Regions from separate parts of the Homo sapiens genome. Here region 1 is linked to region 2. The links are contacts of gene promoters, found by promoter capture Hi-C in blood cells and fetal thymus (Javierre and others, 2016). All regions are on one chromosome and are shown on one strand. Each heading gives the region's core, a stretch centred on a gene start or on the middle of the fragment in contact. The rest is flanking DNA. Distances are from core to core; before and after follow the strand shown.

What was found. The method cuts DNA at HindIII sites, captures the fragments that hold promoters and counts their contacts. A CHiCAGO score of 5 or more calls a contact.
Region 1: a fragment that was not itself captured here is called in contact with the fragment with the promoter of AGBL2 in region 2 in 1 of 17 cell types (M2 macrophages); the score reaches 5.2 in M2 macrophages.

The regions. Positions count from the first base shown.
Region 1 is chr11:47,480,418-47,486,746 of GRCh38, forward strand. CELF1 (CUGBP Elav-like family member 1) reads right to left here. Exons shown (of 15, transcript NM_001376376.1): 7 at 3,972-4,106; 8 at 3,036-3,115; 9 at 2,278-2,439. Among named protein-coding and RNA genes, the nearest start is that of RAPSN, 34 kb to the left of the region's middle. The HindIII fragment of the contact is 9,324 bases long and covers 1-6,329 here.
Region 2 is chr11:47,711,907-47,718,145 of GRCh38, forward strand. It overlaps AGBL2 (AGBL carboxypeptidase 2), which reads right to left and starts at 3,463. Exons shown (of 19, transcript NM_024783.4): 1 at 3,269-3,463; 2 at 2,712-2,844; 3 at 2,378-2,441. The coding sequence starts at 2,744. It overlaps FNBP4 (formin binding protein 4), which reads right to left. Exons shown (of 17, transcript NM_015308.5): 17 at 4,588-5,606. The coding sequence ends at 5,516. RefSeq lists an enhancer at 3,141-3,200. The HindIII fragment of the contact is 6,151 bases long and covers 1-4,626 here.

The sequences.
Region 1 (6,329 bases), core at 1,469-3,968, 230 kb before region 2:
TCAGTCCTAACTGGTGGACGGTGAATACTGTACTTGGTCCCTTCATTTCCCTCCAAATGAGATTAGCTCTTAGGGCAGGAATCATGTCTAACCAAAACAAAGAGAACACAGCTCTCAACACATGCCATCATGTACTTGCTGGTAGTGGCAATGACAACAAAAAGGTTAACCTTCCCTAAAGGGGGGCTCCAAAAGTCTCTAAGAAAAGCAAATGCATAGCATGTAGACCATTTTCAAAGCATTATCATTTCTGCAGATGACTAAAACCTCCCTGAATTTTCTGAACATATAAGCAATGTTTCAGCACTAAGAAACAATTTTTTCTGTTGAAATATAACCGGACCCAGTGGTTCACGCCTGTAATCCCAGAACTTTGGGAGGGCAAGGTAGGCAAATCACTTGAGGTCGGGAGTTTGAGACCAGCCTGGCTCACATAAGCAAAACCCTGTCTCTACTAAAACTACAAAAATTAGCCAGGCGTGGTGGCACATGACTGTAATCCCAGCTGCTTGCAGTTGGAGGTTGCAGTGAGCAGAGATTGCGCCACTGTTTTCCAACCTGGGCAACAGAGCGAGGCTTCAAAACAAAACAAAACAAAACAACCCCAACTCTTTATATTTTTTTAAAAAAACTTCAGAGAAATACTAGCTAGGATAAACTGGGGTTTTTTTTTTTTTTCTTCTTCTTTTTTTTTTTTTTTTTTTTTTTTTGTGAGACAGAGTCTCGCTCTATTGCCCAGGCTGGAGTGCAATGGTGCGATCTTGGCTCACTGCAACCTCCGCTCAGTGCAACCTCCGCCTCCCAGGTTCAAGCCATTCTCCTGCCTCAGCTTCCCGAGCAGCTGGGATTACAGGCACCTGCCACCACACCCATGTAATTTTTTTGTATTTTTAGTATAGACAGGGTTTCACCATGCTGGCCAGGCTGGTCTCAAACTCCCAACCTCAGGCGATCCACTCACCTCAGCCTCCCAAAGTGTTGGGATTACAGGCGTGAGTCACAGCGCCCGGCCTAAACTGGGATTTCTTATAAGATATTAGAAATATGAAAACCACTGGAACTAAACCAAAATTCAGTACTGGGAGACAGAAATCAGTGCCTTTTGTCTGTTTCCATACAGAATAATACTTGAAATGATGAGGAATAAATGACTATACTAGCTATTTCTATGTGAATATTTTTGTATCATCCATACAAATCTAGTGGTTTCACCATTAATAGCCTAAGATGACCTTTTTCCTCTTTGACTCACAAATGGGTGGTTTTAACTGTCTTGTGCTGGCCCAATTCTTTTCCATTAATAATCCCCTGTAACATATACACTGCAGACCTAGTAAATCTAAATCACAAATTGGGGCGAGACCTTCTTTTGGACTAGACAACCTTCTTTTGGCTCACGACAACAGAGAGATCAAATTAAAGGAAGTCTATTTACAATGTAGTAAACTTGAATATACACCTGTAATGCTCATTTAAAAATGTTCATGTTAATCTCTTGATCTCCGCCAGGCGCAGTGGCTCACACCTGTAAACCCAGCACTTTGGGAGGCCAAGACAGGTGGATCACCTGAGGTCGTGAGTTCGAGACCAGCCTGGCCAACACAGTGAAAGCCCATCCCTACTAGAAATACAAAAATTAGCTGGGTGTGATGGTGTGTGTCTGTAGTCCCAGCTACTTGGGAAGTTGAGGCAGGAGAATCACTTGAACCCGAGGTGGAGGTTGCAGTAAGCCAAGATTGTGCCACTGCACTCTAGCCTGGGTGACAGAGTGAGTGAGACTCCGTCTCAAAAAATAAATAAATAAATAAATAAATAAAGCAAAAAAAGAAAAAAAATCTCTTGATCTCTCAAGTCCGCTGAAAGAAACATTTATCATACTCTTTAGGAAAGACTCAATAAGGATTTTAATGATGCCCTCTACATCTGGTAGAAAGAGATATGGAGAAAGACACTGGTAGTTAAGATTCCCTCAGGAATTTCTTTCTTGGAGGCAAGGACACAAGATGTTTCTAAATCTTTAAAACGGGAAACCAGGAATTCACTTTAGTTGCAGCAAAAGCCTCAAGATATAACCAGAGATGCATGTCCAGAGATACATATATATAGAGAGAGAAAGAGACTAACAGGACTAAAAGAAATAGTACTACCTGAATTTTTACATATAATTTCTATATGCCAAAAGTTGTAAATGCCACTGTGTTTGTTGGCTAGGGACAGCAGAAGAAGGAACAGCTGGGAGCTTGCACAGTCTGCAGAAAGCAAACCACAAAGACTCACTGCTAAATACTGGGGTCCAAGAGTATTTAGACCAGCAAGGTTTCCCCACACAGATGCTGCGCTGATTTGCTGCATCTGCTGCTGGAGCTGCTGGGCCATTCTCTTCTGTTCTTTGTCCTTCTGTGTATCAGCAAATTTTACCACCATGGGTGATGAGCAACCCTGTGAAAAGACCATAACGAAAGGGTCAAATTCCTCCATCTGAAAAGAAGAAAAAAAATCTTCCTTTTGGATGACATGCAGGTTACATTCTAATTTCATTCACTGCCAAATGATTCTCCTCATGATAGACACAAGAGAGAAGAGACTGTAATCCCAACACTTTGGGAGGCTGAGGCGGGTGGATCACTTGAGCCCAGGAATTTTAGACCAGCCTGGGCAACATGGCAAAACGGTCGCTATTAAAAAAAAATACAAAAATTAACTGGGCGTGCTGGTGTGCACCTGTAGTCCCAGCTACTTGAGTGGCAGAGGTAGGGGGGATCACTTGAGCCTGGGTGGTTGGGGCTGCAGTGAGCCATGATATTCCCACTGCACTCCAGCCCAGGTGACAAAGTAAGACCCCATCTCAAAAAAAGGGGTAGGGAGAGCATTTCCAATACGTTAATTTTAAAGAAATCAGTGGTTTTTAACTTTAAGATGTTGGCTGTTTAACCTTCTGGGCAATCAGATGCTGCACATGCTGCTGGACTTTAATGGCCAACTGTCCCAGCATTCCCAAGCTGAGGAATTTTCCCCATCACCTATCTGCTCCCTACCTCCATGGTCTGTGCTTGGTGCATTGCCTTGATAGCCGTCTGTGCCATGGCTCTTGTTGTAAAAGTCACAAATGCACAACCTGGTAAGAGAAGAGTCAGTAACTCATGCATTCATTTATTTCTCTGACAAACATTAACTGAGCACCTACTATGTGCTGACTATCATGCTAGCAATACAGACACAGTCCCTGTTTTCAGGGAATCATGTGCTGGTATGTTGCAACAGGGTGATATGTGCTATAATGAAAAAACAGAACCACTGACAGAAAAAAAAAATGCTTGACAGGAGAAAGGAGGACTCATATCCTCTAGTTCCTCTTGAAAATAAAAGAAAATGGAAGAAGAAAGTATTTCCATTTTGGCATCAAGGATCTTGCAAAGCACCAAAAGAGAAAATTTTAATACATGACAATGAAATATAGAATGTAGACTCCTTAGAGGGGCTGGGAGACAAAAAGAATGAACTGATAGGAGGAGTCAAGACAGGACATAGATATACAGCAGGAAGCAGCAGGCCCAACCTCTTTATCTTGACTGGGCCATATTGGCTAGGGAATCACTGTTGCTAGTTTCCACCGGTCAAATTAAAAAGATTCCAAGCCCGGTGCAGTGGCTCACACCTACAATCCTGGCACTTTGGGAGGCCAAGATGACAGGATCGTTTGAGTCCAGGAGTTCAAGACCAGCCTGGGCAACACAGGGAGACCTTTTCTCTATAAAAAATTTAAAAATTAGCTGGGTGTCATGATGCATGCCTGTGGTCCCAGCTACTCAGGAGGCTGATCCTGGGAGGTTCAGGCTGCAGTGAGTTGTGAAGGCACCACTGCACTCCAGCCTGGGTGAGAGAGAGCAAGACCTTGTCTCCAAAAAAAAAAAAACCCCAAACCAAACCAAAACAAAAAACCAAAAGATTATTTAAAAGCTAAAACTACCTACCTCGGCTCAGGCCATCAGGTCCCCGCAATATCCGGCATTCTTCAATCTGTCCAAACGAAGAGAACATGACTCGGATGTCATTTTCAGTGCACTTCTTGGAAATCATACCAATAAACAGCTTCCTGTCTTCCACTGCTAAGAGAGTAAAACAGAAAAGACTTGAATATTACTACTTAAAGAGGCAATGTGGCACAGATTTGGGAGCCAGACCGCCTGGGTTTGAATCCTGGCTCTGTACCATATTTTACAGATTCAAAGACACACATTTGTTTTTTGTATTTTTCACATCTCTTTTTTTCTTGTTTTTGAGATGGAGTTTCGCTCTTGTTGCCCAGGCTGGAGTGTAATGGCGCGATCTCGGCTCACCGCAAGCTCCGCCTCCCGGATTCAAGTGATTCTCCTGCCTCAGCCTCCTGAGTAGCTGGGATTACAGGCATGCGCCAAAATGCCTGGCTAATTTTGTATTTTTAGTAGAGATGGGGTTTCTCCATGTTGGTCAGGCTGTTCTTGAACTCTCGACCTCAGGTGATCCACCCGCCTCGGCCTCCCAAAGTGCTGGGATTACAGGTGTGACCCACCACGCCCGGCTTCACGTCTCTTTTTATAACCAATGTTATCTTAAAATTATAATTAGAAGCATTTAGATGAAATATGGTAGCTTTGTAATCTTGTGAAAGTTACTCAACCATTCTGTGCCTGTTTCCTCATCTAACTAATAGGAATAATCAGGTTTACTTCAAAGGGTAGCAGTTGCTATTAAATGTGAAGTACTTGGCATCTTCCCTAGTCCTTTGTATTGTTTCCTCTTTTTGAGACAAGAGTCTCGCTGTCACCCAGGCTGAAGTGCGGTGGCATGATCATGGCTCACTACAGCCTTGACCTGCCGGGTTTAAGCAATCTTCCCACCTCAGCTTCCCGAATAGCTGGGACCACAGGTATGTACCACCACACCCAGCTAATTTTTTGCAGAGAGGTTTCACTCTTATTGCCAAGGCTGGTCTCAAACTCCTGGGCTTACGCAATCCTCCGGCCTCAGCCTCTTAAAGTGCTGTGATTACAGGTGTGCGCCACTGTGCCCAGCCAGCATTGTTTGCTCTTACTGGCAATACTACTAAAGAAAGAAGAGGTTTTCACACTTGATATGACAAGTGGAAGAGAATACACCTTTCAGTGAATGTAACTGTCTACTTTTCTGAATTTTTTTTTTTTTTGAGACAGAGTCTTGCTCTGTCACCCAGGCTGGAGTGCAGTGGCACGATCTCAGCATACTGCAACCACCGTCTCCTGGGTCCAAGCGATTCTCCTGTCTCAGCCTCCTGAGTAGCTGGGATTACAGGCATGCACCACCACACTCAGCTAATTTTTGTATTTTTAGTAGAGACAGGGTTTCACCATGTTGGCCGGGTGATCCGCCCGCCGTGCGCTCCCAAAGTGCTGGGATTACAAGCATGAGCCACCTCACCTGGTCCTGACTATCTTCTTGAGAATTAAGGCCAGGCGTGGTGGCTCACGCCTGTAATCCCAGCACTTTGGGAGGCCGAGGCGGGCGGATCACAAGGTCAGGAGATCGAGACCATCCTGGCTAACACAGTGAAACCCCGTCTCTACTAAAAATACAAAAAATTAGCCGGGCGTGGTGGCAGGCACCTGTAGTCCCAGCTACTCGGGAGGCTGAGGCAGGAGAATGCAGTGAACCCGGGAGGCGGAGGTTGCAATGAGCTAAGATCATGCCAGTGTACTCCCGCCCAGGCAACAGAGTGAGACTCCATCTCAAAAAAAAAAAAAAATTCGAGAATTAAGTTCTCCTTCCTAATTTGTTCATTTTGCCCCCTCATTCCTGTCCAAAAGAAATTATACTGACCAAGTATATTCCAGTTCATTCTACAATGTTCTTATAATATTTCTCTGTCAGCTCTGTTCTTCATCATACTTTTAAAGAAAAAACTGAGACAACTTAGACAACGGATTACTTAAAGCACAATTCAATTCAGATAACCTAAGAACAGCAAACAAACTAGGCAGAAATCTTTTTTTTTTTTGAGACAGAGTCTCACTCTGTTGCCTGGGCGGGAGTACACTGGCATGATCTTAGCTCATTGCAACCTCCGCCTCCCGGGTTCAAGAGATTCTCATGCCTCAGCCTCCTGAGTAGCTGGGATTACAGGCATGCACAACCATACCCAGCTAATGTTTGTATTTTTAGTAGAGACGGGGTTTCACCATGTTGGCCAGACTGGCTCGAACTCCGGCCTCAAGCAATCCATCTGTCTTGGCCTCCCAAAGTGCTGGGATTACAGGTGTGAGCCACCGTGCCTGGCCTAGGCAGAAATCTTAAGGGGAAGATTGTATACATTTGCT
Region 2 (6,239 bases), core at 2,213-4,712:
TCTCTACAAAAAAAATTTTTAAATTAGCTGGGTGTGCTGGCATGTGCTTGTGTTCCCTTCTAGTTGGGAGGTAGGAGGATCGCTTAAGCCTGGGAAGTCAAGGCTGCAATGAGCTGTGATTGCAACATTGCACTCCGGCCAAGGCAAAAAACAGACCGTCTAAAAAATAAATAAATAAATATCATAATAGTTTTGCTGTCATACTTCATATTGCAAAAGTAATGGCCACAGTACATAAGTACTTAGTTATGGTGGAAAAGGCATTAAATTTGTGGGTGGAAGATAGAAGTCTGTTCTGAATGACAGTGATTTGGATTTAGTACTATCAGTGGTTTCAGGCCATCCAGGGGCCTTGGAACCTCCCCCCTGTAGATAAGGGGGGACTAATGTAGTTAATAAAAAAGTTTAACAACATTCTTTGATAGAAATAAAATTAATACTAATACAATGAATATTACTCCATCTTATTTCAATATACCAGTAACAAAGTTAGGAAATTAAATTTTAAGAAGATCAATATTTATAATAGCATAAAAATATGAAGTATTATGAAAAACTATAAATCTTTATTGGGAGACATTAAAGACCTAAGTAAATGGAGATAAATATTATAGTCATAGATTGGAGAACCCAGTGTTGAAAAATTGCCAGTTCTTGTGAAATTTGATCTACAGATTTAATGCAATTCCTATAATCTTTTAAAATGTCATAAGCGGGCTGGGGACAGTGGCTCACGCCTGTAATCCCAGCACTTTGGGAGGCCAAGGTGGGTGGATCACCTTAGGTCAGGAGTTCGAGAACAGCCTGGCCAACATGAGGAAACCCTGTGTCTACTAAAAATACCAAAATTAGGCCGAGCGTGGTGGCTCATGCCTGTAATCTTGGCATTTTGGGAGGCTGAGGTGGGTGGATCACCTGAGGTCAGTTCGAGACCAGCCTGGCCAACATGGTGAAACCGTTTCTACTAAAAATACAAAATTAGCCAGGCATGGTGGTACACGCCTGTAATCCCAGCTACCTGGGTACTTGGGAGGCTGAGGCAGGAAAATCGCTTGACCCCGCGAGGTGGAAGTTGCAGCAAGCCTAGATTGCACCACTGCACTCCAGCCTGGGCAACAAGAGCATAACTCCGTCTCAAGAATAAAAAAAACACTGGGCGCGGTAAGCTCACGTCTGTAATCCCACCACTTTGGGAGGCCTAGGCAGGTGGATCACCTGAGGTCAGGAGTTCAAGACCAGCCTGGCCAACATGTTGAAACCCCGTCTCTACTACAAATACACAAAAAAATTAGCTGGGAGTGGTGGTGGGCGCCTGTAATCCCAGCTACTTGGGAGGCTGAGGCAGGAGAATCTCTTGAACCCAGGAGGTGGAGGTCGCAGTGAGCCGAGATTGCGCCATTGCATTTCAGCCTGGGTGAAAAGAGTGAGACTCTATCGCAAAAAAAAAAAAAAAAAGAAAGAAACAAAAATTACCCAGGCGTGGTGGCTCGTGCCTGTAATCCCAGCTACTCAGGAGGCTGAGGCAGGAGAATCTCTTGAACCTGGGAGGCAGAGGTTGCAGTGAGCCGAGATCGTGCCACTGCACTCCAGCCTGGGCGACAGGGTGAGACTTCATCTCAAAATAAATAAAAAATAAAATAAAATGTCATAAGCCAATTGCAAAATTTATTTTTTTAAATTTTTATTTATTTATTTTTTTTGAGACAGAGTCTCACTCTGTCGCCCAGGCTGGAGTGCAGTGGCTTGATCTCGGCTCACTGCAAGCTCCGCCTCCCAGGTTCACGCCATTCTCCTGCCTCAGCCTTCCCAGTAGCTGGGACTACAGGCACCCACCACCACGCCCGGCTAATTTTTTTGTATTTTTAGTAGAGACGGGGTTTCACCGTGTTAGCCAGGATGGTCTCGATCTCCTGACCTCGTGCTCCACCCGTCTCGGCCTCCCAAAGTGCTGTGATTACAGGTGTGAGCCACCGTGCCCGGCCGCCAATTGTAAAATTTATATAGTAAGGCAAAGACTCAAGAACAGCCGTGACACTTCTGAAGAACAAGGTGGGAAGACATGTCTTTCCAGATAAAGACTATTTTAATGCCATATAGTAATTAAGAGACAGTGATACTGGTAAAGGATAGCCAAACAGACCAATGGAATAGAGAGCCCAGAAACAGACCTTTGTATTAAGTGATGCTGTCTACTTGACAGAGGTGACCCGCAGATCAATGGGGAAAGGAAGTACTTTTCACTAATGGTAGAGGAAAAAGTATTTATTTGTCAATGCAAATTATTTATTAGTCTACCCAAGTGCAACCCTCCCAGCTAACGAAGCAATTTTCCTCTTGAGTCCAGGAAAGGTGATACTAGATAAGAACATGGTATTACCTTTAAAGTAGCCATAATATTGGAGGTGACGGTACATAAAGTCTTCATAAGGATCAGGAATAGTCTGTGAAAGGAAAGGCCACTTCAATCAAGATAATGTTTTCAAACCATAATAGACTCAACAAAAAGTACATGAGCGTTGTTGCATAGGACTAGACTAAACCAAGCGAGCTGCATTCCATGCGAATTATTCTATCGTGGGGATCAAGATCTCCAGCTGAGAAAAGATGCCACCAGAACATCCCTTCTCATCTAGTAGCAGATTTCTGTGGAGTTCCCGAAGAAATGGAGTTCCCCGAAGAAATTTCTGTGGCTTTCCGTGTTGTGTACCGACCTGCTTTAGGTGCGTTTCCAAAGCTGGGAACATGTTACTTCTGGATGGTAGGCTGAAAACTAGTCAGTGACATTAGCATCCAGTCGCAAACCCTGCCCAATTTCCAAATAGGCAGCTGATTACACAAGAGAAGCTACAAAGCCACAAGAGGACAAGTGAAAAAACTGCCAATACCTCCCCGGGCGCCCCCCAGCTCCCTCTTGACTTCAGAAAACCCTGCCAACCCAGCTTCTCCTCAGCTAAACAAGGTGGTCACGCCGAGGCCAGAGGTGCATCTGAGACAGGGAGGGCAGCGTATCTTCCCGCTTCTTCTTCCCAAGGTGCTGGCCCCATGCTTCCCTTTCCCTGAGAAAGGAGATGCTCGCCACAGGAAAGTGAAAGAAATGGGTATGGGAGCACGCGACGAAGTCGTCTCGGTAGGTGCCGATGGAAAAAGGTCAGGGGGTTGGGAAAGTGGGCCCTAAAGATTGAATTTAGGGTTCAGAGGAACCTGGTCTGGGGCAGGTGGTGAGGGGGTTTCCTAAGGGTAGGAGCGGGGAAGGAGAGCAGAAACTTCCCAGGAGGGCAGAGCGATGGATGCGACCGCCTTCGCGCCCCGGCCCGTCCCAAGCAGCACGGATGGCTGCGGCAGAGAAGCTCCAGCGAGGCAGGCGGCCACCGCACTTAAGTACAGAGGCCAAGCAGTGTGCGGGCAAGGGGACAAACTCGCTGCACCCGCCCGCCACCGCCTTCTGTGAGGGCCCGGGTAGTCTAGCAACCGAAAGCAGGAAGCGGAGAAAGGGCGGGGCGGTCGGGCGCTTCCGGGGAGCTAGGCCTCGCCCCCAAGGAGGGAGCGGGGACCCCGGGAAGGTCTGCAACATGTATGGCGGGCAGCGGCTTTCTTCCCCTCATACATCACAGCCCCAGCCTCGGAATCGAAACCGCATTGATGAGTACGATGCCAGTAGCCTTCAACATACTTCCAAGCTGGTTTGCTGTTGGCTTTAGATAACTGTTATGCATAATTTGCTCTAAGAGAGCTGCTGCTTCTCTCCTTTCACCTTAACATTCTCTCCACTGCACAGCTAGAAAGGAAAAATTACCTTCTACACTGCAAATCTTAAGAAACAGAGCTAACAAATTCAAATCACACATTTTGATTAGGTTTAAAAAAATCAATTATATGCATAGAAATTTACTCCAGGCCAGGCGCGGTGGCTCTCGCCTGTAATCCCAGAACTTTGGGAGGTCGAGAGTTGGAGACTAGCCTGACCAACATGGAAAAACCCCATCTCTACTAAAAATACAAAATTAGCTGGGTGTGGTGGCGCATGCCTGTAATCCCAGCTACTCGGGAGGCTGAGGCAGGAGAATCACTTGAACCTGGGAGGCGGAGGTTGCGGTGAGCCGAGATCGTGCCATTGCACTCCAGCCTGAGCAACAAGAGCGAAATTCTGTCTCCAGAAAAAAAAAAAACAAAAAACCAACAACAAAAAAATAAATATACTACAATAAAATTCAAACACGTGTCTTTGGTTAACTATATATGAATATAACCGTATCTGTTACTTTTATCAGTGGGGGGAAAAAAGCTATAAAGCACCTTTTTTTCTGAAATGTTAACCATATTACATCATTGCCAGGAATTAAGTAGGTAAAATATTATCTAATATGGCTATTAACCAATCTAGATATTATAGATAATATTAGACCCCAAAACTTTGATCACACAGCACCATCTGGGACTAGAAGCCTGTTTGTCTAAACTGGCCCCACCACTCCCCATTAAAGATCTCCTGCTCATTTTCTTGAAAGCTGTTGTTAAATGTTTGCACCTTGCATTGTATATGCTTAGAAAAAAAAACAAGTCCTGGTTACATAATCAGAATAACAGGAGTTGACGAGCAAAAGGATAACCCATCAGGATTATAAAAAAAGCTTTATTAGTGCATATATACAAATTTACAAGGTCAGAAACTGGAGAAATACAAAGAGCTTTAAAACACAATTTGCCGTTTCCTCAGTTTAAAGTGACTTTTACCTGATTGTGATACAACAGAAAGTACAGAACAGTAAACTGCTTTTTAAATACTGGAATTTTATGGAGAATACATTCACATAAAGAAAGGAGGTGAATTTTGTTTTGGAACAGGGTTAAGACAATGGAGACATTAATACATAGAGTGTCTTGTTGTATTTACTGCCACATACTTGAGGGGAAATTCTCAAAATCAAGGATATGAACACCTGCTGCTGCCTGTATGCCACCTAGTGTGCGAAACGACCGAGCTACCAGTTCTAGAACTTATGAGAACTACTCTAAAGAGTGTGGCCATCTATCAGCACGAGGTAAACCACTTAGACCTCAGCACTTCAGGGGTGGCCGACTAGAGAAAAGAGGCCAGAAAAAGCTTCAGACAATTCCAGTCAAGCAAGGTAGAATGCAGAGCTGCCTTCTGAATTGCACTTGTTCTGGAGGAGAAGTTAATTCTTCACTTTTGTCAGGGAGTCCTCTACAGAAGTGTTATACTCATGAGCCACATGTTCTTCAAGACTGATGAGGTTAATACACCTAACATGCTAAGTTTGCCAGTTTGAGAATAAAGGCAGCATGGTCAAAGCAATTCCAATCACCTCATCCCTTTGCAAAAACAGAAAAATTACATTTCACAAAAGTGAAAACTTTGTATGCATACACTCTTGCCCAGGAAATTTATAAGATCTCCCCCATAACATTTATAGTTTATTTGACAATAAAACTGGTTAAGACTTTGAACTGAACACAAAACAAACAATAATACAAAAAAGTTTTAAAAACTTAAAAACTATGTGTTTGGAGCCATTTTCCTTCTCTTCAGCCTTGCTCTCCAATCCTCAGGAAGGGCTTCAAAATTAGCATTTCTCTCTGCCATGCCACTGTGAAAACAACATACAGATTATTTTAGTGGAAAGAAAAATTAACAAAAGTATTCATTTCCCAGCAAATAAAAATCTAACTGAAATTAAAAACCTGATCTATCACGTCTATGTTTATGAAAATCTTTTGTTTCTCAGCCAAACATCAGTATATTCTTCATCAAACTTCTTCATTCTGATAGGTCAACCAAACACTACCCCAGTTTTACGTATATGTCTAAGTGCATATTTATTTATTTATTATTGACTGATTGAGACGGAATTTTGCTCTTGTTGCCCAGTCTGGAGTGCAATGGTGCGATCTCGGCTCACCGCAACCTCCGCCTCCCAGGTTCAAGCGATTCTCCTGCCTCAGCCTCCCCTCAGAGTAGCTGGGATTACAGGCATGTGCAACCATGCCTGGCTAATTTTTTTTTTTTTTAAGTAGCGACAGGGTTTCTCCATGTTGGTCAGGCTGGTCTCGAACTCCCAACCTCAGGTGATCTGACTGCCTTGGCCTCCCAAAGTGCTGGGATTACAGGTGTGAGCCACCGTGCCCGGCCTTATTTATTTTATATAAATATACCTCCAATAACCATTAAAGGCACACTGAAGAAATGAAACACGTTCTATTAGAGTTTTTCTTAGCCCACA